Regions from separate parts of the Homo sapiens genome. Here regions 1, 2, 3, 4, 5 and 7 are each linked to region 6. Evidence: promoter capture Hi-C in 16 types of primary human blood cells and fetal thymus (Javierre and others, 2016). All regions are on one chromosome and are shown on one strand. The core of a region is centred on a gene start or on the middle of the fragment in contact, and the rest is flanking DNA. Distances in the headings are between cores, read along the strand shown.

Region 1 (4,005 bases), core at 715-3,214, 300 kb before region 6:
TATTCTTTATATAATTACAAAGTGATTAAATATTGTTTAAAAAAATAATTAAGATGTCAGCCTACTTTAGGCCAGAAATCATGTTCCTGTACACCCAAAAGCTTCAGAGGGTGAAAGTGAAACACGCTTTATGTTTTTTCAAACTGTTAAGAGACTGGCAATTTATAAAGAAGTGAATATTATTTTGCTAGAATTTGGTAGTGTTCTTCCTTAATCTTATCAGCAATGCTATTTTTAAATTAAATCACAAATCTCAAAAGATAGAAGACTTCAAAATAATTGCCAAGGTGTTCAGAAACAAAATCCATAGCTTTTATTTAAAAAAAAAAATAGTCTGAAAACTGGCCCTAGAAGATAACTTCTTTGGATGGTACAATATTCACTATTATATTCTATTCTTAATAATATTCTATCATTAAGTAACTACTATAGAACTTTAAAAATTAAGTCCCATTCACTTATGTAAAAGCATTCATTTAATTTCATCTTTCAGCTTTAATAAAAAATGCGATACTACAATTGAACAAATATCCAAACAACTATAAGCATTAACAATGTACATTTTAGGTCGGGGTCCCCAGCCTCTGGGCCGTGGACCAGTACCCGTCAGTGGCCTGTCAGGAATTGGGTCGAGCAAGCAAGTGAGCGAGCATTACTGCCTGAGCGCTACCTCCTGTCACATCAGTGGCAGCATTAGATTCTCATAGGAGCGCATACCCTATTGTGAACCGTGCATGCAAGGGATCTACGTTGCACACTCTTATGAGAATCTAATGCCTCTGAAACCATGGCAACTCCCCACCTCCCCAGCCCCATCCGTGAAAAAATTATCTTCTACAAAGGGTCCCTGGTTGCCAAAAAGGCTGGGGACTGCTGCTTTAGGTTACAGAATTATCAAAGCGTTAAAACATGAAAACACTTGAAAAGTAATCTTTAATGAGTTCTATAATGCCTATTTCAAGTTTTATACAAAGTTTGAAATACTTCTCCAAATAACTAAAAATGTCAGTTCACCCACAACTTATTACTGTGTGTGATGACTTTGGCTAGACTACAAAATGTGAGTGCAGCCAATTGAAGAAATGTAATCAGTGTCTAACTTAAGAAAAGGTAAATGAAAATGGCCTTTACTCATTTGTTCAATAAAAATGTATTGCTAATGAACTATTTATTTTTTGACATACTCAATATGAATAACTAACATCTATGTCTTCTCTAAAGGCAGATCATCCTTAGTCACTAATGAGTTATTGAGATACATCCTTTCCTTTCTAAACCATTCTAACGGGTCTACCCACCTCTCGTCTCTTACTCCAGTCTCTTCAAAACGCACTACCAAGTGCTCGTTTCAGCAGCCATATACAAAACACACTGCCAAGTTAATCTCCCCAAAGTACAACTTGCAAACAGCCTTAAAGACAAAGTCAGAACTCCCTGGCAAGCACGCTACATTTTTTGTCATCAGGTACTCATTAACTTCGCCAGTTGTACCTCTCACTATTCCTCTTTGTATCCTTTCCCTTCCACAGACTGTTGCAAAAAACTCTGGTGACAGCCACTGATTTTATCAGCTCAACTTCTGGGAATCTCCTCTAAAAAATAATCTGGAAAATTCGCCAAGATGTTAACGATAGGGTAGCAACAATTGTGCAAAAGTAGAAATGGCCTAACAGGGAAACTGTTACTTAAATTGAGGAGACCTACTAAAATATATGTAAGAACCATTTACAATAACTTGAGAAATGTGTATGTGACAATGATGTTTTTTATTTTACTATTTGAGATAGGGACTCACTCTGTTGCTACAGTGCAGAGGCACAATCACAACTCACTACAGCCTCGACCTTCTGAGCTCAAGCACCCCTCCCACCTCGGCCTCCCTAGTAGCTGAGACTACTAGTGTGCTCCCCCATGCCTGGCTAATTTTTAAATTTTTTTTTGTAGAGACCGGGTCTTGCCATGTTGCTCAATCTGAGTTTTTTTAAATGGGCATATAATTTGAAAAATGTAGACACAGCACAATCCCTACCAAGTAAAAGCACAATATGCATAAAAAAGGCCTAAATAAGATTTTTCAGCAATGAGTTACTGTGTTCCCTTTGGGTGGCAAGAATGTCGATTTTCTTGCTATTCTGCTATATCCAATTTTCAGAGCTTTATGTTCCAAAACATCCCATACATCCTTCAAAATGCAGTCCAAATGAAACTTCTTCCCAATAGGAAGTCATTTCACTTTCCCCCAAATTTCTAAAAAACCTTTGTCCTTCCTTTTTAGCTTAGATTCTAATATTTCACAATTTACTATACATATTTGTATCGTATATACTATCTCAGTAGCAACTGACAAAAGTGATCACTCCTTCCTTGAAATACTTTCTGTACTTGGCTTTCCCCAAAAGAATACACTCTTGTTTTTTCTCCTAATTGAATAGCCAATCCTTTTCCTTCGCCTCTGCTGGTTCCTTCTCATCTCGTCAAACTCTTAATGTTAAAATGCACCACAACTCAGGCTTACCATTGCCTGTCCTCTCTTGCCAATCTCCATCAGTTTCATGGCTTTAAATACCATCTATACACTGATGACTTCTCTGGTAAACTCCAGACTCATAAAAACACAAGGATGTCCATATGCAAATATAAAATACCCATCTTCCTTTATCAAATCTGTTTCGCTTGCAGTCTTTCTCACTTCAATGCTGGCAACTTCATCCTTTTAACTGCTTGGCTAAAAAAATCTTAGAGTCAACCTTAATGATTAGTCTACCAGCTAATCAAACTGGCTGTTTTCAAAATATATCTAGAATCCAACTCTTTCTTACCAATTCAATCACTAAAGTGGTTTGCGTATTCATCATCTGGATTACTGTAACAGTATGCTAATTGGTCTCACAACATCTACTTTTGCTCCTAGAAATCTATTATCCACCAGCAGTAAGAGTGATCCTCATAAATAATGTCCTTCTTCCTCCACTGAAAACCCTCCAATGGTTTCCCATCTTTCATACTTTTGTAAGAATAAATGCTAATGTTCTTACAATGGTATCTTATAAGGTCCTACATGATCTAGTCTCACTTCAACCTAGGCACCTTGGCCTCGTAATGCTGCTTAAGTATCAGGCTTACTCCTGCAATAAGGCCTTTGCCCCTGCCTGGAATATCTCGTTCCAGATGGTTGTAGCTCACCTGCTCCGTATTTCTGGACCACATTCACATGTCCTTTAATAAGGGGCATTCCTGACTAGCCTATAAAAATTAGTAATCCTTCCTTGCAGGATCCCTTATATACCGTTCTCCGTTTTATTTTTCTTCACAGGACTTATTACATACATCTATATTCATATGTTTATTTGTCCCATGAGGTCAGAAGTGTTGCTTTTATCACTTCTCTTTAGTTGGTAGAACGGTGTCTACCACATTTTAGTCCCTCAAATATTTATTTACAGAACAAATGGATGAATGATCTTATATCTTTTACTAGACAGTAAGCACCTTAAAAAGGGTTCAATCTATTTGCATCCACCAGAGCACTTTATAGGACACATGCACAACGTCTGTTAATTTTTCTGCCAAATTAATAAATATAATGCTTAATTGGGAGAATAAGATTTTAAAAGGAAAATACATAAATAAATAACTATGCTTACCTGTTCTATTGCACTCTTTAATTTGTTCATGTGGCTTTCAAAGAGAGGAAAATGTGAAAAAAAGAATTCATTAAATTTGTTATTTTCATCTTCATCTTTGGACAATGAAAAGATTACCCCAATTGCAATCTTCTTTTTCCGCACAATTCCTGGGTTAGGGCCACAGCTTTCATCTGAGAGATTAAAGCTTTCTTCTATAGACCTTAAAAATAAATGATTTTTTATTAATTTACAAAAGTAAAAATAAATTCACAATTTAATCTTCTTGCTAATTAAATGTAGGTAAGCTAAGTCTTTTGCTGTTTTATCAAACAAACCTATAATTTCATACCAATTGTATATCTCTTTAAGAAATCTACTG
Region 2 (3,631 bases), core at 979-3,478, 350 kb before region 6:
GCTGGTCTCGAACTCCTGACCTCGCAATCCACCTACCTTGGCCTCCCAAAGTGCTGGGATTACAGGCGTGAGCCACTGCACCCAGCCCTTATTGTTTGAATTTTTATCACAAGCATTTACTTTCATTGTTAAAAATGTTAAGACAGTGAAAAATAATATTTTGACTCATATATACATAGTCATGAAAGAGCCACAAGGCATATGGCTATGTCCTTACCTTCCCCCGGTTTACAAACAAAGACCAAAAATGACAATTAAGTACAGAGCATGTCTGCCAGAAACAGATAGTGACCCTACCTTTAATATTTTTCTGTATTTGGAAAGGTAAGGATTTTTTTTTACTACTGGCCAAATGGAATAGCAGCAACAAGACTGAGATTAAAACTATAATATGAAATACTGAGACCAATGGCTTTTCCTCTCTAACTTTTAATGTTACTACAATTAGGATAAGGTACCACAATAAGGACAAAAGTTTACTCCTGGATAAGCCCAGGTTTGGCATCCTCAAATGATATTCCTTTGCCTAGTTAATGAACAACTACTCTGAATAAAGCTCTTTCCTGGAAACTAAAGAAACAAAGACAACAGAACTCATAGACTTGTGAGGGAGATCAAAATAAATACATCTAGCTTTAAAAAAAATGTGTTACTGATGAAGCAGAAACCAAGTGCTGGGAAGTAGAGGAGGGCAATCGTGGGATCTGTGTGATAGGGAGTTTCGCAGTGAAAGGGACATAGGACTATGACATTGAAGTGTATAGATAGGACTACTGGTGAAAAAAATGGGAGAAGAACATGGATAATTCGGTAAGAGTAAGAATCAGAAATAGAAGTAGATGCAAATGGCTACATTTGTGAGAAATGATATTGAGAAATAAGAAGAGAATGGCAAAGGAAAAGTCCAAAAATATACCTTGGGAAGATTTTCCATGGAGCCCCAAATTTATATTTGTTTTTTATAAAACAGTATTCAAATATTTATTCATCTCTTGCCAGGGATAAATCACTTTGTTATTCATCACTTAATTATGGAAATATAATTTTGGCAAAGATATATACATCTGTGATATTGTGAAATATATTCAGCTGACCAACAACATGGGTTTGAACTACAGGTCCACTTAGATGCCAATTTTTTCCAATATAATATATGGGTAAAGTTTTTGGAAATTTGCAACAATTTGAAAAACTTAGACAAAACCGTGTAGCCTAGAAATACGGAAAATAAGAAAAGTTAGGCATGTCATGAATACATAAAATATATGTGGATGCATGCCACAGTAGTGTGCATTTGTAATCCCAGCTACTGGGGAGGCAGAGGCGAGAGGATCAATTGAGCCCAGTAGTTCGAGAGACTAACCTGAGCAACATAGTAAGACCCATCTCAAAACAAACAAACAAACAAAAAAATGTAGGTAGTATATTTTATCATTTACTACTATAAAATACAAATCTACTATAAGAAGTTAAAATTTATAAAAACTTACACACTTACAAGGCATACAAGGTGACATTCACAGCCCAGAGAAATGTTAACAAATGTATAGTATTAAATCATAACTGCATAAAACTAGCTGTAGTACCTACTGCACTACTATAATAGTTTTGTAGCTACTTCCTGTTGCTATTGCCCAGAGCTCAAGTGTTGCAAGTATGTACTTCAAACACCCTGCCAACTTAATCATCTCTGCAGGAGCAGTTCCGCTCTCCAATAAACAGCATATCTCAGTTAAAAACTAATCTCTTTTCGAGGCCATCCTGGCTAACACAGTGAAACCTCGTCTCTACTAAAAATACAAAAAAAAAAAAAAAATTAGTTAGGCATGGTGGCAGGCGCCTGCAATCCCAGCTACTCCAGAGGCTGACGCAGGAGAATGGCGTGAACCCGGGAGGTGGAGCTTGCAGTGAACCAAGATTGCGTCACTGCACTCCAGCCTGGGTGACAGAGCAAGACTCCATCTCAAAAAACAACAAAACAAAACAAAACAAAAAAAAAACTAATCTCTTTTGGGAGGCTAAGGCAGGAGGATCCCTTAAGCCCAGGTGTTTGAGGCTGCAGTGAGCTATGACTGCACCATTGCACTCCAGTCTGGGTGACAGAGTAAGACTCTGTCTCTAATAAAACAAAAAGCCAAAAAGATAACAAAACTGGTGTTTAAAGGTTCTCATGTATTTTCCATCATGGTTAGTGTGATACAGCAAACCCTGAATAACATCATGGGATCCACATGGAGTACCACTAGTGATGCTGGAAATGCTCTCAAGAAAAGTAGAGAGAAGTTAAGATATTACAAGAAAAACTTGAATGGCTTGATATGGACCATAGATTAAGTAGCTGTGGTTACCCATCATTTCAAGATCAATGAATCCACCATGAGGACAGTTGTAAAATAAGAAAAGGAAATTTGTGAAGCTGTCATTGCAGCAATGCCACTAGGTGTGAAAACCAGGTACTTTTGCAGAATACCTTTTAAATCTCATAATGAAAATGCAGCTCTTATGTGGGTACAGGGTTGCTGTAAGAAAGCTCTAACTAAAGACTCTAATATTATTTTTTAGATGAAGTCATTATATGACAACTTAAAGCAAAAGGAGGGTAAAGGATCTAAAGCTGGAGAATTTAACGCTAGGAAAGTATGGTTTGATAATTTTAGAAAGAGTTTTAGCTTAAAAAATATCAAGATAACAGCTTTTGCTGACCAAGAGGCAATACACAAGTTCTTGGACACCATCAAGAAAATCATAGAGGACAAAAGGTATCTGCCTGAACAGGTTTTTATTGCTGATGAAAGAATCCTATTATGGAAAAAGATGCCACAAAGTACATTTATTAGTAAGGAACAGGAGCAAGCACCGAGATTTAAGGCAGGAAGGGATAAGCTAACTCCACTGTTTTGTGTAAATGCAGTCATGATTAAGATCAGAACTACCCTTATATAAAGAGCTGCTAACCTCTGGACCTTGAAGGAAAAAAGATAAACACCAGCCCTGCTAGTCTTCTGATAGTAGAACAAGAAAGCCTGAAAAACAAAAACTCTTTTTCTGGATTGAATCCACCCATGCCTTTTTTTTTTTTTTTTTTTTTTTTGAGACAGAGTCTCGCTGGGTTGCCCAGACAGCTCACTGCAACCTCCAACTCCCAGGTTCGAGTGCTTCTCCTGACTCAGACTCTCAAGTAGCTGGGACTACAGGCACCTGCCACCATGCCTGGCTCATTTGTGTATTTTTAGTAGAGACGGGTTTTCACTATGTTGGCCAGGCTGGTCTCGAACTCCTGACCTCATGATCCACACACCTCAGCCTCCTAAGGTGCTGGGATTACAGGCGTGAGCCACCACGCCTGGCCCCACCCATGCTTTATTTCTAAAATCAAGAAGTACCTTGCCAGTAAGTGACTGCCTTTTAAAGTTCTTATGTTGGACAATGCCCCTGGCCACCCAGAACCCTATGAGTTTAACACTGCAAGTGTTGAAGTAGTCTAATTGCCCCTAAACACATCTCTAACTCAGCCTCTAGATCAGGGTGCCATAAGGACCATTAAACACAATATTCTATAAAAATGATTGTCAGTGCTATGGAAAAGAACCCCAGTGGAGAGAATATCATGACAGTCCGAAGAATCACGCCA
Region 3 (4,032 bases), core at 443-2,942, 280 kb before region 6:
TAGAAACTTAGCTAATAAAACTCTTCCAAACAGGTCTTTTTAAGGCATTAACAATTAATGGGGGCTCTACAGAATTTCTGTAGTCTGGAGTAGCTTCCTTGCTGCCTTTGACCTTGGGTTACCCCCAGGGGCTCTGACTAGCCAATGAGTCTTGCTCTGATATGGCACCTGCAAAATCTCTCTCTGGGGTCTTCCACTGCCTAACTTTAGCCCCAGTAATTTACTAGGTTCTGGCACATGGCCCATGATCCTGACACCAGGCCTGCCTTTGTTTCAGCTTCACTATTCTAATCTTTGCATTAATAGCTTGTAATACCCTGGTGGCTATCATTATATAGTGTATATGTGCAATATCAGTATGGCTGACCTAGGTCAGTCCTGTCTTTAGGGTTAATTTCGTAGGGGATCTGAAAATTGAAGAGCACCAACCCTACAGATTGTGGTAACTCAGGTAACTCAGCGTGGTACCGCAAAACTGAAAAATCAGCATGTTGCCCTAAGACGGAAATCCATTCAACATTCTACTTCCAGATACTGCTTCTAGCAATTCACAGAAACAGAAACCACATCTCATGTTTCTCAACTAAACTCAATTAAGAGTGAAATCTGGCTTCCATGAACTTTTAAACTTAAGGAAAGACAGAAAATCTGAACTTGTGCTGCAGTCCTAAAAGCAGTTGGTTAGTTTTCATACTTTGCACATCTAAAGTGATACATTTCCCCCTGTATCCATAAGCACTTACGTATTGAGACTCCCACAAATACTGCTGCCAGTCCGAGCAGTAAACACTTTGCTGAGCATGAGCTGTGGAGGGGAACTATGAAGAAAAAGAGAAAGAGAGAGACCAAAACTAAAATATAATGACCTTTTGGATTTATTATAAATAAAAATGTGTAAGTCACAGAGGTTTCACAGCATAGCTGCAAGAGCCATGAAGTAGCATTAAAACCATAGAACATGTTAAATGGAGTATGACAAGCTCAATCTGAGTGAAGATCATATAAAATTCTCTCTAAAAAAACGAAAATATCTAAAAATGGGACTCGTTAAAAAAAAATCAGAAAACCTCTCACCGAATCTGATGAATTTTTAAGGTGGATCCTTTGTAGCTCATTGCTACTGAGCCAAACATCATCTCTCCAAGCATATTGGCATCAGAAGAGCACCGAGAACCCTAAACAATAACCACATATTAACAAACTGTGTTAATTAAAAGCTTATGACTATTTCATATGTTGATTTTTATTAAAAATTCTTGATATAGTTATTCTACATTAAGAGTTGTACTTCTACACTGTATACGCTGTTCTGCAACTCGATTTTCTTCCTTTTAAAATGTTTTCTTGATGTAACCATGTTGTTACACATAAATTTGACTAATTCCTTTTAAGAGCTGTACAATATTTTATTGTATGAAAATACTACAGTTTGTCAGACCAGTTCCCTTTACTCACGGGCATTTAAGTCACTTCCAGATTTTTGCTATTACCAATAATGCAAAAGCAGGCATTCTTAACCACATCTTATGCATATGCAATGTTTCTCCAGGATAGATAATAAGTGAAATTCAAAGAATATGCAGAATAATTTTTACTACTCCTGTTGTATATAAGAAGCATCCATAAATGGGGCAATTTATATCTATTTTGTATTTCTGTAAAGACATATCTGTGATCTACAGTTTCAATACTATGCCTATGAAAATCCTAATGGCATTTTTTACAAAAACAGAAAAACATATTAAAATTCACATGAAACCACAGAAGACCACAACCTTCTTCTTCAAGAAGCAGCAGCCAAATCAACCTTGAAAAAGAACAAAGCTGGTGGGCATTACACTTCCTGATTTCAAATTATACTACAAAGCTACAGTAGTGAAAACAGTAAGGTACTGACATTAAGACAGACATATAGACCAATGGAACAGAACAAACAGCCCAGAAATAAACCTACATGTATACAGTCAACTTATCTTCAAGAAGGGTGCTAAGAATACACAATGGGGACAGGATAGTCTCCTTAACAAATGCTTCTTGGAAAACTGGATATCCACATGCGAAAGAATAAAACTGGTGTCCTATATCATGCACAAAAATCAACTGAATATAGATTAAAGGCTTACATGTATGACCTGAAACTGTAAAACTCCCAGAAGAAAACAGGAGAAAAGCTTGATGACATTGGTCTTAGCAATAATTTCACAGATATGACACCCAAAGCACAGGTAACAACAGCAAAAACAGACAAGTGGGACTACATCAAACTAAAATGTTTCTGCACAGCAAAGAAAATAATCAAGAGGGCAAAAAGATAAAATATGGAATGGGAAAAGATAAAATATGGAATGGGAAAAAATACTTGCAAACCATGTATCTGATAAGGGATTTGGCTTCAAAATGTACCAGAAACCCCTACAACTCTATAGTAAAAACTAATAACGCAATTAAGGTCTTGAATAAACATTTCTCCAAAGAATTCATACAAATGACCAACTGATACAGGAGAAACGCTCAACATTTCTAATCAGAGAAATGTAAATCAAAACCACAAAACCTGTCAGGTTGGCTATAATCAAAAAAGCAAAGACAACAAGTGGTGAGGATGTGGGAAAACTGGAGCCCTTGCACATTGTTGTAGGAATGCAAAATGGTATTGTACTTATGGAAAACAACATGGCAAGTCCTCCAAAAATTAAAAATAGAACTACCATGTGATCTGGCAATTCCACTTCTGGGCATTTTTCCAAAATAATTAAAATCAGGATCTCAAAGAGATGTTAGCACTCCTATATTCATTACAGCACTATTCACAATAGCCAAGATGTGAAAATAACCCTAAATGTCCACTGACAGATGCATGGATAAATGAAATATAATAAATACATAGAATGAAACACTATTCAGTTTTCAAAAAGAAGAAAATTCTGCAACACGCAACACGGATGAATCTTAAGGACGTTAGGCTAAATGAAATAAGCCAGTCACAAAGAGATAAATACTGCATGATAAGATAAATACTCCACTTATATGAGGTATTTAAAATAGCCAAATTTACAGAATCAAAGAGTAGAATGGTAGTTACCAGGGGCTGGGGTGAGGGGGAAATGGGGAGTTACTAATCAATGGCATTAAATTTCAGTCAAGCAATTTGAATAAGCTCTAGAAATCTATAGTGTAACACTGTACATGTAGAAAACAATTCATTGTACACTTAAAAATTTAAGAGGGTAGATCTCATGTTCTTCCCACAATTTTTTTTTTAAAGACTTCCTTGAGGCTAGCGCGGTGGATCACGCTTGTAATACCAGCATTTTGGGAGGCTTAGGCGAGAGGATCACAAGGTCAGGAGTTCAAGACCAGCCTGGCCAACATGGTGAAACCCCATCTCTGCTAAAAATACAAAAAATTAGCTGGGCATGGTGGTGCATGCCTGTAATCCCAGCTACGCGGGAGGCTGAGGCAGGAGAATCGCTTGAGCCCAGGAGGCAGAGGTTGTAGTGAGTGGAGATCACGCCATTGCACTCCAGCCTGGGCGACAGAGCAAGACTTCCTTGAAACATTATAATGTCTTGTTTCCAAAGAACCTCCTGATTAAAAAGTTATTCTCTTTCATTATTCTTTGTCTTCACAGGAGTCAGACAATAGTTAAAGATTGAGCTTATCCATTTGGTTACTATTTAGATATCATGGCAAATATCACTTTTTACCTACCAAGTATCTATTCTCTAATTCTTCCTCATTTTTTGAAGTCCAGTTTGTTTTAGGGCAGTAATGTGCACAAATGAAAAAAATTTCATTTCACAGCCTCACTTGAAGATAGGAGATTTAGAATAATTTTTATACTTAAAAGATCAGTGTTATGGTTGAAGTAGCAATTTTCAGAACTATTCATTTACATGCATTTGACACAGGCCTGGTCAGTAAGATGTAAATGGAAGTCACTACAGATGGAGATGTCATATTATAACAACAATGCAACAAGTACACACTAACTCTAAGTAGAAAGATAAGGGAACCATGGTCTCTGAGGGT
Region 4 (3,733 bases), core at 72-2,571, 260 kb before region 6:
GAAATATCTTTGCTTGAGACAGAGTCTCACTCTGTTGCCCAGGCTGGAGTGCAGTGGCATGACTGCAATCTTGGCTCACTGTAGCCACCGCCTCCTGGGATCAAGCAATTCTCGTGTCTCAGCCTCCCTAGTAGATGAAACTACAGGCACGTGCCACCACACCCGGCTAATTTTTGTACTTTTTTTTTTAGTAGAGACGGGGTTTCACCACGTTGGCCAGGCTGGTCTTGAACTCCCGACCTCATGTGATCCACCCTCCTCAGCCTTTCAGCCTCCCAAAGTGTGGGATTACAGGCATGAGCCACTGCATCCGGCCTTTTTTTTTTTTTTGGCCAGCGGGGAGAGGGTCTTGCTTTGTCACTTAGGGTAGAGTGCAGTGGCGTGATCCTGGCTCATTGCAACCTCCACTTCCTGGGCTCAAGTGATTCTTCTGCCTCAGTCTCCCAGTAGCTGGGACTACAGACACTCAGCACCACACCCAGCTAATTTTTATGTTTTCTGTAGAGACGGGGTCTTCCTATGTTGGCCAGACTGGTCTCAAACACCTGGCCTCAAGTAATTCACCCATGTTGACCTCCCAAAGTGCTGGGTTTACAGGCGTGAGCCACTGCACCCAGCCTAGAGATACCTTTTCCACTCCACAGATATATAGGAACTCCCTCATTTTTTCTTTTGTAATGTTATAGTTTTATATTTTTATATTTAAATGTTTGATATACTTGGTTTCATCCTGATGTACACTGTAAGATATGAATCCAAATTAAGGCTGGGCACAGTGACTCATGCTTGAGCCCAAGAGTTTGAGACCAGCCTGGATAAAACAGTAAGACGCCATCTTTAAAATAATAATAATAGTAAGTAGTAACAGTATGAGTCTAAATTAATCTTTCTTCCACATGGCTAATTGTCTCAACACCATTTAAGATGATGCCTTAATCATATACCAAAATTCCTGAACGTATTTGGATGTATTTCTGATCCTCTATTTTGTTCCATTAGTCTATTGCCTATTTATGTGTCAATAACACACTGTTTGGCCAGGCGTGGTGGCTCACGCCCGTAATCCCAGCACTTTGGGAGGCCGAGGTGGGTGGATCACGAGGTCAGGAGATGGAGAACACCCTGGCTAACACAGTGAAACCCTGTCTCTACTAAAAATACAAAACGTTAGCCGGGCGTGGTGGCCGGTGCCTGTAGTCCCAGCTACTCGGGAGGCTGAGGCAGGAGAATGGCGTGAACCCAGGAGGCGGAGCTTGTAGTGAGCTGAGATTGCGCCGCTGCTCTCCAGCCTGGGTGACAGAGTGAGACTCCAGCTCAAAAAAAAAAAAAAAAAAAAAAAAACACTGTTTTAGATACTGAGACTGTGCAGTATATTTTCAAATGTGATAGGACTGGCTCATCCTCACTGCCCTTCTTTTTCAGTTTTCCAACCAATCATTGCTAATTTTTTTCCATTTGAACTTTAGAATCCACTATTTAGTTCCAGACACTACCCCCACCCCAAACACACAAAAATAAGGATAACATTGTTTCTGTGATAGCATTATTTTACAAAGCACTTTGGACAACTTTATAACATTGACTACTGCCATGGAATATGTTTAGCCTTTCCATTTGTTAAGGTACGTTTTTACGTCCCTTAAGAAGACTTTTAAAGTTCTAAACTTACAGATTTTGTTAAGTGTATGCATAGGCAACTTTGTCATTTTAATTTCTATTTTAAATGAATGTCTCACTTTTATGTGTTCAAACTGGAAGCTATTTGCATATATTGAGCTTACTGATTTCTGTATATTAACCTAAATCCAATTATCTAACCAAATCCTATGTGCAAATGTGATATCATAAATAAGACTCAACTATTCAATTAGCACTGTACGATGCTTCGGAGTGTTTCTCATGTCTTAAAATCTGTAATCATCTTTCCAAAGTTATGTGAATTTACTGATGTACAACTTTATCCTTGTTTAGAATCAGTGAAAGCTGATACATGTGAATGGTCATATAACTTAACTGGGAACTCATGAAATAGCATTGCACTGTTGTTGACATAAAAACAATGTCTAGGATAAGGATAATAGTGTGATAAAATCAGAATGGATCCATTTGGCTATGTTAGTGTTCATATCGAAACCATATCTCAATATATTTTTCTACCACGGGAAGGTTCTTCTGTCAGAGATGTTGAACCAGAGCAACTCCATCTTGAATAGGGGCTGGGTAAAATAAGGCTCAGACCGACTGGGCTGCATTCCCAGATGGTTAAAGCATTCTAAGTCACAGGAGGAGATAGGAGGTTGGCACAAGACATAAGTCATAAAAACCTTGATGATGAAAAAGCCTGCAGTAAAGAAGCTGGCTAAAATGCACCAAAACCAAGATGGCGACAAGAGTGACCTCTGGTCATCCTCACTACTACACTCCCACCAGCTCCATGACAGTTTACAAATGCCACTGGCAACATCAGTAAATTACAGTATATGGTGTAAAAAATGGGAGGCATGAATAATCCACCCCTTGTTTAGCATACAATCAAGAAATAACCATAAAAACCCACAATCAGCAGGCCTCGGGGCTGGTCTGCCTATGGAGTTGCCATTCTTTATTCCTTTACTTTCTTAATAAACTTGCTTTCACTTTACGGATTTGCCCTGAATTCTTTCTTGCTCAAGATCCAAGAACCCTCTCTTGGGGTCTGGATCCAGACCCCTTTCCGGTAACACTTCTTTAAGATCACTACACATATTCACTTTAATTGGGTTTTATAATTCAACAGTCATTTTTCATAAAATATATAACAGATCTGAAAAAATGAGTTCTGAGGAAGCTATACACTGATTAACAATTTTATTTCAACTTACATAAGACACTATTTGAGCATGCAAAGTACTTTGGTTTCTGAAGCATAATCAAAGCATTTATGTAGTTCACTTTGTATAGAATTTAAAATGTAATAAAATACATAGCTTCCTAATTTTCTCCCAAAACCCATTAAATATACTCTACATACACAATGTTTGCTTTGCATGGAAATACAAAAATGATCTGCTTATATTAATAAACTGCTGTTATATTCTTCATTGACAATTCTTTGGTTCAACCAAACGCAGAAATGGATCAATATTCCACTGTGAAATATTGCCTTCTCTCACACTCCAGATAAAAGGTACTCAAAGTGAATTATGATCATCTATAATCTTTACAAGGAAAACTGCCATGTGTCTTACACATTTAAAAGGACTCCAGTAAGTATTTTTACAATGACTATTTTTTAACGCTGAAATAGCTTCACAGTAAACAATCAATAGGATTTTGATTTAATTAAATACACTCAAACATATTGAGTGAGCCCAAATATTACTATCTTCTACTCCTACTTGGCAATTTTCAAATGATATTTTTCAAAAATTCAGATTCAGGCTGATAACAAACTGTCCCAAGTAGCCTGAAGAGGGAGGACTGCGTGATCCCAGGAATTCAAGTCCAGCCTGGGCAACATAGCAGGACAGATGGACGCTGCTTCCAAATGAGAAAATGTTTTAATTTCTTTTTTGATAAAGCGAACAGAGTAAAACAATTTTGCAAGGCTCACATTCTAAAGCTTGACTTTCTGTTTATAACTCATGGCGACATTATGTTCTAATTTTTTTAAAAAGAATGTTTTCAATAAAAGTTTTGGTAAATAGGCCAGGCAAAGTGGCTCCCGCTGGTAATCCCAGCACTTTATGAGGCC
Region 5 (4,078 bases), core at 1,252-3,751, 370 kb before region 6:
AAAACAGAAATGAACTTGGGAGAATTTTGTCAAATTATTTATCACAAACAAATCATCACTAGGATTCAGATTTCCTTCTTCATACTTCTTTACCCCAAACAAATTCTACACTCATTCAAAAGCACTACCAATGCATCAGTTAACCTCTTATGCTGCTAGATGTCAGGGCTACATTCTGTGTACTGTGGGCAGCTGTTTAGCATTCCCTTGAACAATGCTTCTGTTCCAATTAAGCACAATAAAGTACTTAACACAGCACACAGTGGCCAACATAACTTTATGAACAGTTTAGAAAATTTCCTAAGGCTCAAAAATAGGCAATTTCAGCCAGGCGCGGGGCTCACACCTATAATCCCAGCACTTTGGGAGGCCGAGGCGAGCGGATCATGATGTCAGGAGTTCAAGACAAGCCTGGCCAACATGGTGAAATCCCGTCTCTACTAAAAATACAAAAATTAGCTGGGCATAGTGGCGTGTGCCTGTAATCTCAGCTACTCGGGAGGGTGAGGCAGAACTACTTGAACCGGGACCCAGGAGGCGGAGGTTGCAGTGAGCAGAGATCGTGCCACTGCACTCCAGCCTGGGCTATAGAGGGAGACTTTGTCTCAAAAAAAATAAAATAGGCAATTTCAAAATAAATAATTCTGCTGTTAAAGAGCAGTAGGATTTTTCCATTAAAATGTGAATTTAGTAGCACAAGTAATGTTGAAAATTAAAAGCAGCCGGGCAACTTGGCTCACACCTGTAATTCCAGCACTTTGGGAGGCCAACGCGGGCAGATCACTTGAGGTCATGAGTTTGAGACCACCCTGGGCAATATGGTGCAACCCCGTCTCTACTAAAAATACAAAAAATTAGCCGGGCGTGGTGGCGCCTGCCTGTAATCCCAGCTACTCCGGAGGCTGAGGCAGAAAAATCGCTTGAACCCGGGAGGTAAAGGTTGTAGTGAGCCAATATCGCGCCATTGCACTCCAGCCTGGGTGACAGAGTGAGACTGTTTCAAATAAAAAATAAAATAACATTAAATTAAATTAAATTGAAACCTGCAATACACATCGTAAGCCTTGTATAATACTTTCCAATGCTATAAAGGCTGTAAGATAATTCGCCTACTGAAATTCATAAATCAGCTCACATTGACTTCAAGAATCATCATAAGGAAACAAACACTCATCGAATTATAAATGTATATCTCAAAAAGAGAACTCTGGAAAGTGGTAGAATTTGTGTTGTTCCTATGCAAACATCAGGATCTTCAATAACATAATTTGACCTATCATGGCTTCCGTTGTGACCTGAATAATTGTCACGACCCAAAAGGTCAGCCCAACGTTACTGAGACTCAGTATGCAAAACACTACATATCTGAAAAACTCCAAAGTGAAGAATTAACCAAAGCATTTCATTTCATTTACTGCAACTTTAAACAAAACAATCCAATAATCCACTCACACTGTTTAGTGTTTTGTTTAGAAAATATGTCCCACTTGTTATAGAAACCTCCAAATCAAGGAAAACCTTCCCCAAAACCTTAGCATTCTACCGGGATAAGCAAAGCTAACAGGTTTTAGTTATATGCCTGAAAACTAGCCTTCATGAAGGTCGAATGAAAAATCTTTTAAGCTGATGCCATAACTGTTAACTCGACACAGCAAATTTTGGATCCAAGTACAAAATACTGTAAAATTTCCCAGTGACAGTCTGAAAAAGTACCTACAGTGGTGTTCTTTAAACATGCATCATCTACTACAGAATTCACCATTTGACTGGATGTAAACTTTTAAACTAACTTTGAAAACTTTATCTTTTTTTTAGGCAACTGTACAATATTTCAGAGACCTTTAAAGAAAAACTATTTCTAAATTACATGGCTGAGATACTTCCCTTACAATTTCCATCTCGTTTTTCATAGTCTACTTAAACGAATGGGCATCTAACTGCGAAACTCATATTACCCAACTCAGAAAATACGACTTAGTAATGGTGCTTTCTTAACGACACTCAGAAGCCCCCGGCAAGGACGGGTACGCGGGTTAAGACCGCATCACAGGCAGGAAGGGCGGTCGGCACCCTGCTGGCGACAAGGGCCTGGGTCAGGGAAGAGACTCAAGCGAACAGATTCCCAGTAGCAGGTGCGAGACTCTGGCAAGAGGGCAGTCGCCGCGGATTTCGGACAGACAGGAGGATGCTGTCTACTGGACTGTGAGACGCACATAAAGGTCAACCAGCCTCACCTCGGGAGTCCGCTCGGGTGGCTTCTTCCTCAACGCCTGCCTAGCGCCAGGGTCCACGGGTGAGTTCATGGCCACGGCCCGGGTACTCCGCAGCCTGCCCTTAGCAGCCCACGCCACAGTTCATTCACACTAGGTAGCGGGTGCGGTACCTTTCCCCCGCCCCAAGGAGGGAACTTCGCGCCGTAACAAGGTCCGAACTCTAGCAAACAACCCTTCGCAACGCCCGCCTAAGGCCTCTACCCACGCGCGACTGGCCGGAGACAAGTCTGCGCGGGGGCGGGGGAGAGTAAGTGCGCATGCGCAGCACGCACGCGCACGCTAAGAAACGCCCAAGGGAGTAACTCCACTGTGACGTTAAAATTGGGGCGGTGCGAGTAAGTCGTTTCCTGCTGTCGTCGTGAGATTTAAAGACACCTCGCGAGACCTCACCTAAATCAGTCACGGGGTCTGCCTTGGCGTTGTGGTTCCGTCTTCTCCATCCGTTGGAGACACCGGAAACGCGCTGAGGACCTGAGCAAAAATAGCATTTTGGGGCAGAACCGTGGGGAGGCGTTCTGACTGGAGAGAACTGTTGTGCCCAAATCCGGAAGCCCAGGGTGTGGCCAAGTCCGGCTTTGCGCTCTCCTCTGCAACTTCTACTGCCGACTTTGAATATGCGGAAGTAGAAGCCGCCATTCGGCAAAGAAGGAATTCCACGCACACCTCATATCTCTTTAAATAAAACGAGATCTCTTGTGAAAGCTGCCGACAGAGAAGTGCTTGATCTATTCGAAACGGACGTCCTGAGACCAGGGCAGAGAAAGCAAACATTCACGGCCAGGATAGGCAGCCGGTGCCGCGGCCAGCTCACGATTACCTTTGAGTCAAAAAACTAGATTTAGACTGCGTTCTTGTAACTAAATGCCCGGGGCAGCCCTCCCTCAGGCAACTGCGTTTAGGGTTGGGACTCGAGTGGCAACTTTTGCAATACTTTTTACATTCTAGTCTGCTTCCCAACAGACCGAATAAAGCCAGTTTTGTTTCACTGCTCCCTTGGTAAGAAAAACAGACCACCCTTAGGAGCAGCCAGAGAGCTGCTGAGGCCGTTTCAACAATAAGCTCACTGACAATTCCAGAATCCATCGTTCTAGGATACTCCTTACCCTTTCTCATAAGTTCATAGGTAACTAACTTTGGCGACACCACCTTTCCACTGAATTTTAAGCTCCTTGATGGCTGTAACTACATCTAGGTACACCTTGGTATTTCTCACAGCAGTTAGCATAGTTCACTAAATAACAAGGTGATTTATGATTATGACATGCTTTCCAATTAATGACTGCTTCACAGTAATTTTAATGACGTAATAAGAGTTAAAATTATATTTGAAAACAATGAGAGTTCAGGCTACAACACCGTTTCTGGGACCGGCAATGACTTAAGGACTGTTTTCTGTTGGTCCTGGGGCTTGCCCAAACTGGGAGTTTACAACATACTATTAGCATTTCTCTTTTTCAGGTATAGATCAAAAACTTTACCAGCGAAGTGTGGCATAGCCATTGTAGAAATAAAGTAATTGTGGAAAAAATCACAGGATGTTGCAGACGATCCGTTTTCCTCATTTTTTGTACAAATATAACCTCTCAAAGATCTGCCCAGGATCACAAACAAAAGTTAACCCTTCCATTCTTCAAGGATCAATTTTCAGAGTCACATCAATATTTTGAAAGAGGGAGAAAGAACTATAAAGCATGATCACCATGAACTTGAACTTTAGGGGCAAACAGACCTAGAATTTGTGTCTCTAATATTAGACCTCTTCTAGTTAAGTGACTTGAAGTTATTTAACATCTCTGAACTTCATT
Region 6 (3,673 bases), core at 1,152-3,651:
TGGGGCAGGAAATCCAGTGGTCTGTGGGAAATCCCACAGAGTGCCAGAGGCATAGAGCTGAGGGAGTAGTTTCACCCCAAGCAGTGTGCAGCCCAGTTGCCAGGTTGAGAAATGCACAGCCTTCACCATCACACATGTACAACCCTGACCTGCAGAGGTGCAAACACAGCAGCGCACACTTGCCCAACACCTGCCCTCTCCACACAGGGATTCAAGCTTCTCTCTGCTGTGAGAGAAGGGTTTGCTCTCCATTTTCCTCTTGGGTTTTAATTAGATTCACAGAACCACATAAGACCAGGGCAGAAATGGAGCAAAGAGCCTCCCTGACTTGGGAATTGCCAGGTGGGACCCACTGTACATCCCCCATGAGATAGAGGCCCAGGATACGATACGGGGTTGCCAGGTTACATGGTGGCTCACCTGCCAAGCTTCCCCAAGGAGCCTGATCATAGCTCTGATGGTTCAATTAAGCCCCTTGAATGTAGAAAGGCCCAGCTAAGGCTGGCTGTGACTGAGTACTTTACAGAGCCACCTGTTGCAACTAGCCCAAGCTCACTGTGAGCATGCCTCCCTTTAGCAGCCTCCACTGCCCGCTGGCCTCCCCATCCTCATGACAGTACCTCTCAAAAATCTCACTCACCCTAAGCCCTGCTCAGGGAATGTGGGTCCACATTCCTGATGCTAGCACCAGGAAGCCAGGCACAAACAATGCTTTCAGGAACTTTAAAATATGAATAGCCTTGAGAACAGAGGAGCAAACAGATACACAGTGTCTTTCACACGCTCTGAGATAAACGTTGCCCTCACCATGAATTAGGCAGGACAAAGTTCTCAGAGCAAAGAGGGACAGCAGGGGCTAAAAAAACAGCAGTAGTCCCTTTGGAAATATTTACAGGGTATGATAACCAGGACTGATGGTGTGGACGAGTTCAGATCCTTCCACGCCAAGCCCTGGGACAGCAGGCAGGACCCTAGGAATACTGACCAGGGTCACCATCACCTCACAGGCACAGGGACACTCCCTGGCCAGGCCCTCCTGTGCAGGAAGCCAAATCCTGTGGCTGTAACACGATCCTTTGCCTTTCCGGCCATGTCCACGTTAGGACTGCTGGTGTCCCGGCCTCAGGAGCAATGATTCATTTCTGCCACTGGCTCAAACTTAGGACACACTGCAAACTAAGCTTGAACCAGTAAAGGGCATATGGGCTGCTCATGGCGAGGCCATGCACTCAGAGCTCAACTGCAGGTGGCTGGGGTACAAGCAGGATGGGATGCGACCTCCTCCAGCTAGAGGGAAGCTCCTTGAAGTAGGGAGGGTCCTGCCAATATATGGTTGGGGGTCACTGAGGTGGGGGGAGCAACAGAGGGATTTGCTTGCCTGCTTGTTCACTTAGGAGCCCTGCTGGTCTCCTGGGGACACGTGCTAGGGGAGAAATGCACAAAAGACAGAACCTGAGACATCCTTAGCCAGGGAGGGAGAACAAGGAGAGGATCCGAGCTGGGTGGGAAAGGGTAGAGAACAGGGCTATCGAAGAGGGACAGAAGTGGGTTGGTAAGTCACAGGAAGAGCCTGTAAGATGTTGGGGCCCCTGGCAGGAGCCCTCACACAGTGGCGGGAAGGAGGCAGAGGCCTGTCTGCACTGAGGACTGGGGCAGGAAGCTGAGGCTGGCAGGATGGCACTTAGCTATGGGAGAAAGGAAAAAGATGGTGATGGGTACTGTATATCTGCCTCATGCCTTCAGAGTCACAGCCCACAAGCTAATGGCACTCAGCCCTGGGGATGCAAAAGTGCCCCAGGCAAGCTGTGCTCCTACATCCTTGGCAAAGGGATTGCTGCTGCAGCCAGGATCCGGCATGGCTCCTTCACCTACCATTCCAGAGTCACTGAATTTTTTTGTAGACTAGAAAGTGAGCAAGACAAAAAGAGTTTTGCCCTTGGTTAAGGGCACATTTTCTGGCAAATTTGGTAAATAGCTGAATATTCTGGCATCCCCATAGTCTGACAAAATTCCTCTTCTGAATGCCTCAAGAAGAAACAAATCTGAATTTCCTCCAGTTTAGCAAAAGGCTGTGCTGGTCAACGGGAATCTGCCACCTCCTGAATCCCCCCTCTGGAGGTCAGGCGGCACAGCAGCTGCAGCCTTAAGCTGCTCTCCCTCCGGCAGCAAGCGGTCAAGTTCTGCTGTTGGCCTGTGAGAGCCTACAGTGTCCACAGAGTTAACATTAGACTGGAGCGGCCCAGCCCTCAGCGGGCAGGAGCACTGGGAACTCAGGCCTCCTTTTCAAGGCCAGGATGAATGGGAAATATGCAAATGGCCGCCTCCCAGGAGCGGCAGGGGAGGGCCTGCTGCTGGCAGGAGGGCATCACTCCACTTGGGTCTGTCACATGAAAGGGTTTGTATTCCTGCCGCTGGCCGGCTCCTGGCCAGGCTGGGGCTGTTCTCACCAGAAAACAAAAATGTCTTTCAGACCAAAGCAAAACGAGGCCCCAGCTGGCCCAGGCAGGCCATTGGGCGTTGTTCACACTGACCCACTATGAACACCAATCACTGGGGCTCTCACTTTGCACCCACTGGAAGGAACCCATCATCTTTGGAGACGGAACTGGAGGCCTCGGTGGCTGCTGAGGAAAGCACTACGTAAGTTCGGGGGGATGGAGGTGGGATCCAGAAAGAGGGTCAGCCCCCTCTGAGGCTCTGTTGGTTTTGTGCTTTTCGAAAACAGTAGTGGCGGAATCTGGAGTAGCACCCTTTTTTTGGATAAGGAAACTTCAGTTATTCTCACAGTGTTGATGGTAAACATGGAGAAAGAAATGGGAAGAAAAAAGTGCTGGTACACAAGAAGACCCTGCAGTGCACAGAGAGGACTTTCAATAATGGAGGGCACGTGTGTCCTCTGCCTGGTGCCCACACTCCTGCTGCCACAAGTGCCCTCGAGTGGGAGGTGGGGATAAGGGCAGCCCAGAGCCCCATGTGCGGGATCACTAGCTTCCAGGGCTGGGGCTCCTTCTTCAACCAAGGCTCCATGCCAAGGTCAGGCTTCTATCCTTTTTTTTTTTTTTTGGCTGACTTTCAGCAGCCAGAACACTGCTTCTCTGACACCCCATGGTCACCAGGAGCTGCCTATTAACCACAGCACAGACCTTGTGCCCTGTGGAGCATGGATGCCACTCAGACTCCCACTACCAGGAGAAATAGCACAGCAAGATCTCAAGCACACATGTGGCCGTTGAGCCTGAGAGGACATCTAGGACAAAACCACTTTGGAGTTGATTTTGAACCAACAGGTGGGTTGGTGGATGCTCCACAGATCTCCTGAAATCCAAGGGAGATATGTCTTGTCAGCCTCTGGGGCTAAAGGAAACTGGTATTCGTTTGGGCCACACAGTATCTTCATGAAGCCAAGGTGCCAGGCATGTCTCTGTGAGAGGTCATGGAACTGTCCAGGGAGCAGAAGCAGGAGACAGAGGAGACAGGACACTTCAGAATGACCTAGAAAAGTTGGTTCCACAGGTCATAGCCTTCCATATCTGGTCTGTGGCAAGGAGATCGGGGACACATGCACCCAAATCCCCTACCAGCCTACTGGATGGGGGAAGGCCCAACCTCCATTTCTCTCTAAACCCTCCCTGCCACCACAGACAGACCTAGGCTTAGGGGAGTTGGCCTACAG
Region 7 (3,755 bases), core at 624-3,123, 470 kb before region 6:
AATAAAAGTAATTAACAAAGGAAAAAAAAAGCATGAGCTCAGACTTCTCATCAGCAACACTGGAGGCCAGAAGACAGTGTAGTAACTTTTTCAAACTGCTAAAGAAAAAAGACTTTGGATTTATTATTTTATATTGAACTAAACAATTATCTTAAGAGTAAATATAAAGGAAGGCATTTATGATTCATTCTTCCCCAACCCCCAGTAGAACCATGCTAATACGACTATTTATTTTAGCAAGAAAATTAATGAATTCAGAAGTAGTAAAATGCAAGTACATAGTAGCATAGGCAAAAATACATGAACAAAAATAAAACCAGTAAAATGTACTGGAAAATGAAAAGAAGTATAACAAAATTCTAAGTTTTATGTGTTTAATTGCAATCCAGAGTCAAAATTTCATCAACAGTAACATGAGGGAAGGGGGATGGAGACATGTACTCTTACAAATACTTGATTTACACAGTAGAGTACCAATCCAGAATCCTGCTCATATAATGTTTGCTGGCATTTCATGAAACCTTAGAAGCTGATTTTGAAATTTTGACTCTTCCATATTTGTTAAATCTGGGATCAAAAGTTGGCTATCAGCATTCCAAAGGCTATTTTATTTTGCTGGTTACCTTAAAAAACAACCCCTATATCTCATTCTTAATTTTCTTTAAAGTTTTTTTTACACGGTCTCACTCACTTCCTTTCTACAAGTGGTTTAAACCTTTGTAGTATAGTGCAGCTATCAAGCATCAGCAATGCTTGGGCCATATAGGTGTCATTTTCACTAAAAAGGCCATTTAAGCCTTAGCCAGATAATAGCACAAATACATTGTGTACCTAGGCTTCTTTTCATCTATTTACATTTCAATCAGCTGTTTGCCAAATGGACAGTGAATTTAAATGTCTTTCCAGAAGCTGCCTTTAAGAAAGACATGCAGTGAGCTAGGCCAGATAAAACAGAAAAACACCACGATGCTATCATAGGATTTCTTCCTTAGTCACCATCAACAGGACAACCTTGAAACAAAGACATGATTTCAGACCATACTAAGAAGTGCCTCTATTGTGCCTGTCTGTATGCAAGAGAACCATAAAAAATCTTAATAAATGTTACAATTTAAATGTTTTGAAAAAACACTGTTTTATAATACATACATGAGACAGGAAAGATAACTTGAGTGGCATCAAATTACAGACTATATAAATAGCCACTGTGTATAATAAAACTCACTGAATTAGAGTATATATTTTCCTACAACCTAGCCTGGAAGGTTGTATAGCACTTTGCTTTTTTGTGAGTTATTATGTTTATTTAAAAATGACAAGTATGATAGATGACCTTAAATAGTCTCCAGCTGCTAATGGTTTACTATCTTGAAAATACTTAGAATCATTATTTAAATATTTTCATATAATTGATTTTCATGAGTATTTTCTTCATATTATTTCACTGCTCAAGAATTATCAACTAATCTTTGTAAAATAGCACAATTCAATTGTAAAATAGCACAATTCAATCATAATTTATGACAGCATCATATTAATGAAAAATGTCATATAATCTGGCAATTAGACTAACATACCTAAATATATCAACCATTTAAGAAAATGAAGCAAGTTAGAGTATGATCACTGATAAGTACAGCAATAGCCATAATCAAAAAATAATTCAGTCTGAAGAGAGTACATCTCAAATGCACTGCATTTTAAGTCTACAGATTTAAAACGCACCTTTCAAATCTCTTAGAGGTCACGTTAGAATGTTTTAGATATTTAAATTAAAAAAAAATGGCAATGAGAAAGACTACTTTGTAGTTCTTATTTTTAAAGTTTAGAAAAGAGCGCAATAAAGCTCATTTACAGTTCAAAATAAAATTTAATAACTGGATTAAATCAATTGCTAAGAAAATAACAATTACTTACTTTGGAGGCCCATGGCTGAAGACAATTGGCATAACAGCGAACAAGAAAAGCCATTTCCTAGGCTGGAAAGGGTAGTTTCCTTTTCAAACCAGAGCTACAGTGATGAGTACGGTGATAAAATTCTGTTAAGTTTCTTTTTACAAATCATACACCACTGCAGTGTTTATATAAAGGCAGCCTCTCCAAACCCCTTTTAAAACTGAAATCAGGAGCTTTCAGTATTGTTCTAAATTAAAACGTTCACTTTAACAAGCAAATCACAGTAAATGAAGATGTTTACAATTCTGGCTCAGAATATACAGACATATACATGCGGCCTCAGGCACCTGGCACAGACATGCAGAGTGGTAGCACAACAGTTAATACGGTATCAGTCAAAGCAAATCAGGCAACATGCACCAAATCTGTGTTCCTGGATTCCGTGAAACCTTTCCTCTCTGTAATATAGCTTTGTCTTTTCTTCAACTTATTTCATTCTGTAGAACAAGCACTGCAGTGATTCTTCTGCATCAAAAGCAAACATTGTATCCTGAAGATTAAAGTTTCTTCTTTATATTCTTAACCTCCAGAGGTTTAAAAAAAAAAAAAGTTGAGCAAATGGCAGTTAGATGATATATGCCGTAACAGGTTTGTCCTGTAGAATGTCTAAGAATCTCCAAAATTGTAATTATTTTCTCTATTCACATGCACTGTTTACAGCTCTGCAGCACTGTTCCTTATTCTAATGTATCAGTAAAACAGCACTGTTGATTTAAGTCTAGCTTTTCTGGTTAAACATTTTTATATAATATGGTACAAAACCATTATATCTTCTGCTAAAGCAAGACTGAATGTTAGTGTCTTAATTTCTACTGTCCTTGCCTGTTTCAAAGCAGCTCCCTAAGGAGAAGCTCCTATTGATTCTATGCTCTGCAGTAAGATGAAATATCTAATAAGAAGGAAAGAGAGTGGGAGGAGAATAGAGCTAAAAGGATGACATCACCTGTACAGAAAGCCTCCAGAAACTGCATTAGATCAATTGGCTACTGTATCTGCAGATGTAGCCCCAAGAGCAATTTATTGAAAACATACACACACACACACACACACACACACACACACACACACACACACCCCATCCTCCTTTCCATGAGACACGTCAGCAAGCTAAATTCTTTAAGAAAAAAATTGGCTTGAGCACCCTTTCTACTTCACAGTTTTAAAAATCCATTTTGATTTTTAATTCTGTACATTGATACACAGCTATATTTGGGAAGCCATATTTCCTATTATTATTCAAATGTAATACAGTATTGTCCTCCCAAGGTAAAATTATAAGCTCTGATAAGATACCATTGCATTCCAAATAAACAAGGCAGCCTAGGTTCTCAGATGTCACATGTATTTGTTAACAAGGGGTTTCTGCTTGCAAAATTTGCTATTTATCAAATAACTGTTCTGAAAGATATAACCTTCAGGATCACTCTAAATTAACATTAAGAATATACAAACTAGTACTAAGATTTGTAGGTAGATAGTAAATTTAAATGGAAACAATAGAATTTCATTTTGCAAAGGGAAGCTGGAAAAAAATCAGATGTACACCAATAGTTGCAGCATGCACCTACTTCTTTGAGAAAGAATAATCTACACAACATGGTACTTTCCTGTAGCCCAATGCTGAATTCCTAGAAAAAGACAAGAAGCCAGCAAAACTCACTCAGAAGAAATCAAAGAAAAGGATTAAACCTGCTTCCAGAGTGAGTGTGGACTAAAAAAAATTGCCCCATTTTTCTATAGAAATTACAGAAAAAGATTTTAATTTTGCCACACCCTCTTCCATCTGAAACACAATACCA

Evidence for each region. The method cuts DNA at HindIII sites, captures the fragments that hold promoters and counts their contacts. A CHiCAGO score of 5 or more calls a contact.
Region 1: a fragment that was not itself captured here is called in contact with the fragment with the promoter of ACSL6-AS1 in region 6 in 12 of 17 cell types (M2 macrophages, megakaryocytes, M1 macrophages and 9 more); the score reaches 12.5 in M2 macrophages.
Region 2: a fragment that was not itself captured here is called in contact with the fragment with the promoter of ACSL6-AS1 in region 6 in 6 of 17 cell types (naive CD8 T cells, megakaryocytes, naive CD4 T cells and 3 more); the score reaches 7.5 in naive CD8 T cells.
Region 3: a contact is called between a fragment that was not itself captured here and the fragment with the promoter of ACSL6-AS1 in region 6, in 11 of 17 cell types (M2 macrophages, M1 macrophages, non-activated CD4 T cells and 8 more). The highest score is 13.3, in M2 macrophages.
Region 4: a contact is called between a fragment that was not itself captured here and the fragment with the promoter of ACSL6-AS1 in region 6, in 3 of 17 cell types (M1 macrophages, M2 macrophages and megakaryocytes). The highest score is 6.0, in M1 macrophages.
Region 5: the fragment with the promoter of RAPGEF6 here is called in contact with the fragment with the promoter of ACSL6-AS1 in region 6 in 17 of 17 cell types (megakaryocytes, naive CD4 T cells, total CD4 T cells and 14 more); the score reaches 14.0 in megakaryocytes.
Region 7: a contact is called between a fragment that was not itself captured here and the fragment with the promoter of ACSL6-AS1 in region 6, in 6 of 17 cell types (naive CD8 T cells, fetal thymus, total CD4 T cells and 3 more). The highest score is 7.0, in naive CD8 T cells.

What each region holds. Positions count from the first base shown.
Region 1 is chr5:131,700,421-131,704,425 of GRCh38, forward strand. FNIP1 (folliculin interacting protein 1) reads right to left here. Exons shown (of 18, transcript NM_133372.3): 10 at 3,645-3,846. Among named protein-coding and RNA genes, the nearest start is that of RAPGEF6, 67 kb to the left of the region's middle. The HindIII fragment of the contact is 3,730 bases long and covers 100-3,829 here.
Region 2 is chr5:131,653,953-131,657,583 of GRCh38, forward strand. The region is part of intron 15 of FNIP1 (folliculin interacting protein 1); the gene reads right to left. Among named protein-coding and RNA genes, the nearest start is that of RAPGEF6, 21 kb to the left of the region's middle. The HindIII fragment of the contact is 8,856 bases long and covers 1-3,631 here.
Region 3 is chr5:131,718,243-131,722,274 of GRCh38, forward strand. It overlaps FNIP1 (folliculin interacting protein 1), which reads right to left. Exons shown (of 18, transcript NM_133372.3): 4 at 1,075-1,175; 5 at 744-818. Among named protein-coding and RNA genes, the nearest start is that of FNIP1, 77 kb to the right of the region's middle. The HindIII fragment of the contact is 954 bases long and covers 1,216-2,169 here.
Region 4 is chr5:131,738,497-131,742,229 of GRCh38, forward strand. All of the region lies in intron 2 of FNIP1 (folliculin interacting protein 1), which reads right to left. Among named protein-coding and RNA genes, the nearest start is that of FNIP1, 57 kb to the right of the region's middle. The HindIII fragment of the contact is 4,556 bases long and covers 1-3,599 here.
Region 5 is chr5:131,632,728-131,636,805 of GRCh38, forward strand. RAPGEF6 (Rap guanine nucleotide exchange factor 6) reads right to left here and starts at 2,502. Exons shown (of 28, transcript NM_016340.6): 1 at 2,235-2,502. The coding sequence starts at 2,303. RefSeq lists enhancers at 1,692-2,274, 2,222-2,311, 2,404-3,603, 2,612-2,861, 2,872-3,071. The HindIII fragment of the contact is 12,440 bases long and covers 1-4,078 here.
Region 6 is chr5:132,001,172-132,004,844 of GRCh38, forward strand. It overlaps ACSL6-AS1 (ACSL6 antisense RNA 1), which reads left to right and starts at 2,402. Exons shown (of 2, transcript NR_183256.1): 1 at 2,402-2,640. The region is part of intron 1 of ACSL6 (acyl-CoA synthetase long chain family member 6); the gene reads right to left. RefSeq lists an enhancer at 583-1,178. The HindIII fragment of the contact is 3,713 bases long and covers 1,180-3,673 here.
Region 7 is chr5:131,530,184-131,533,938 of GRCh38, forward strand. All of the region lies in intron 6 of RAPGEF6 (Rap guanine nucleotide exchange factor 6), which reads right to left. Among named protein-coding and RNA genes, the nearest start is that of RAPGEF6, 100 kb to the right of the region's middle. The HindIII fragment of the contact is 3,878 bases long and covers 1-3,755 here.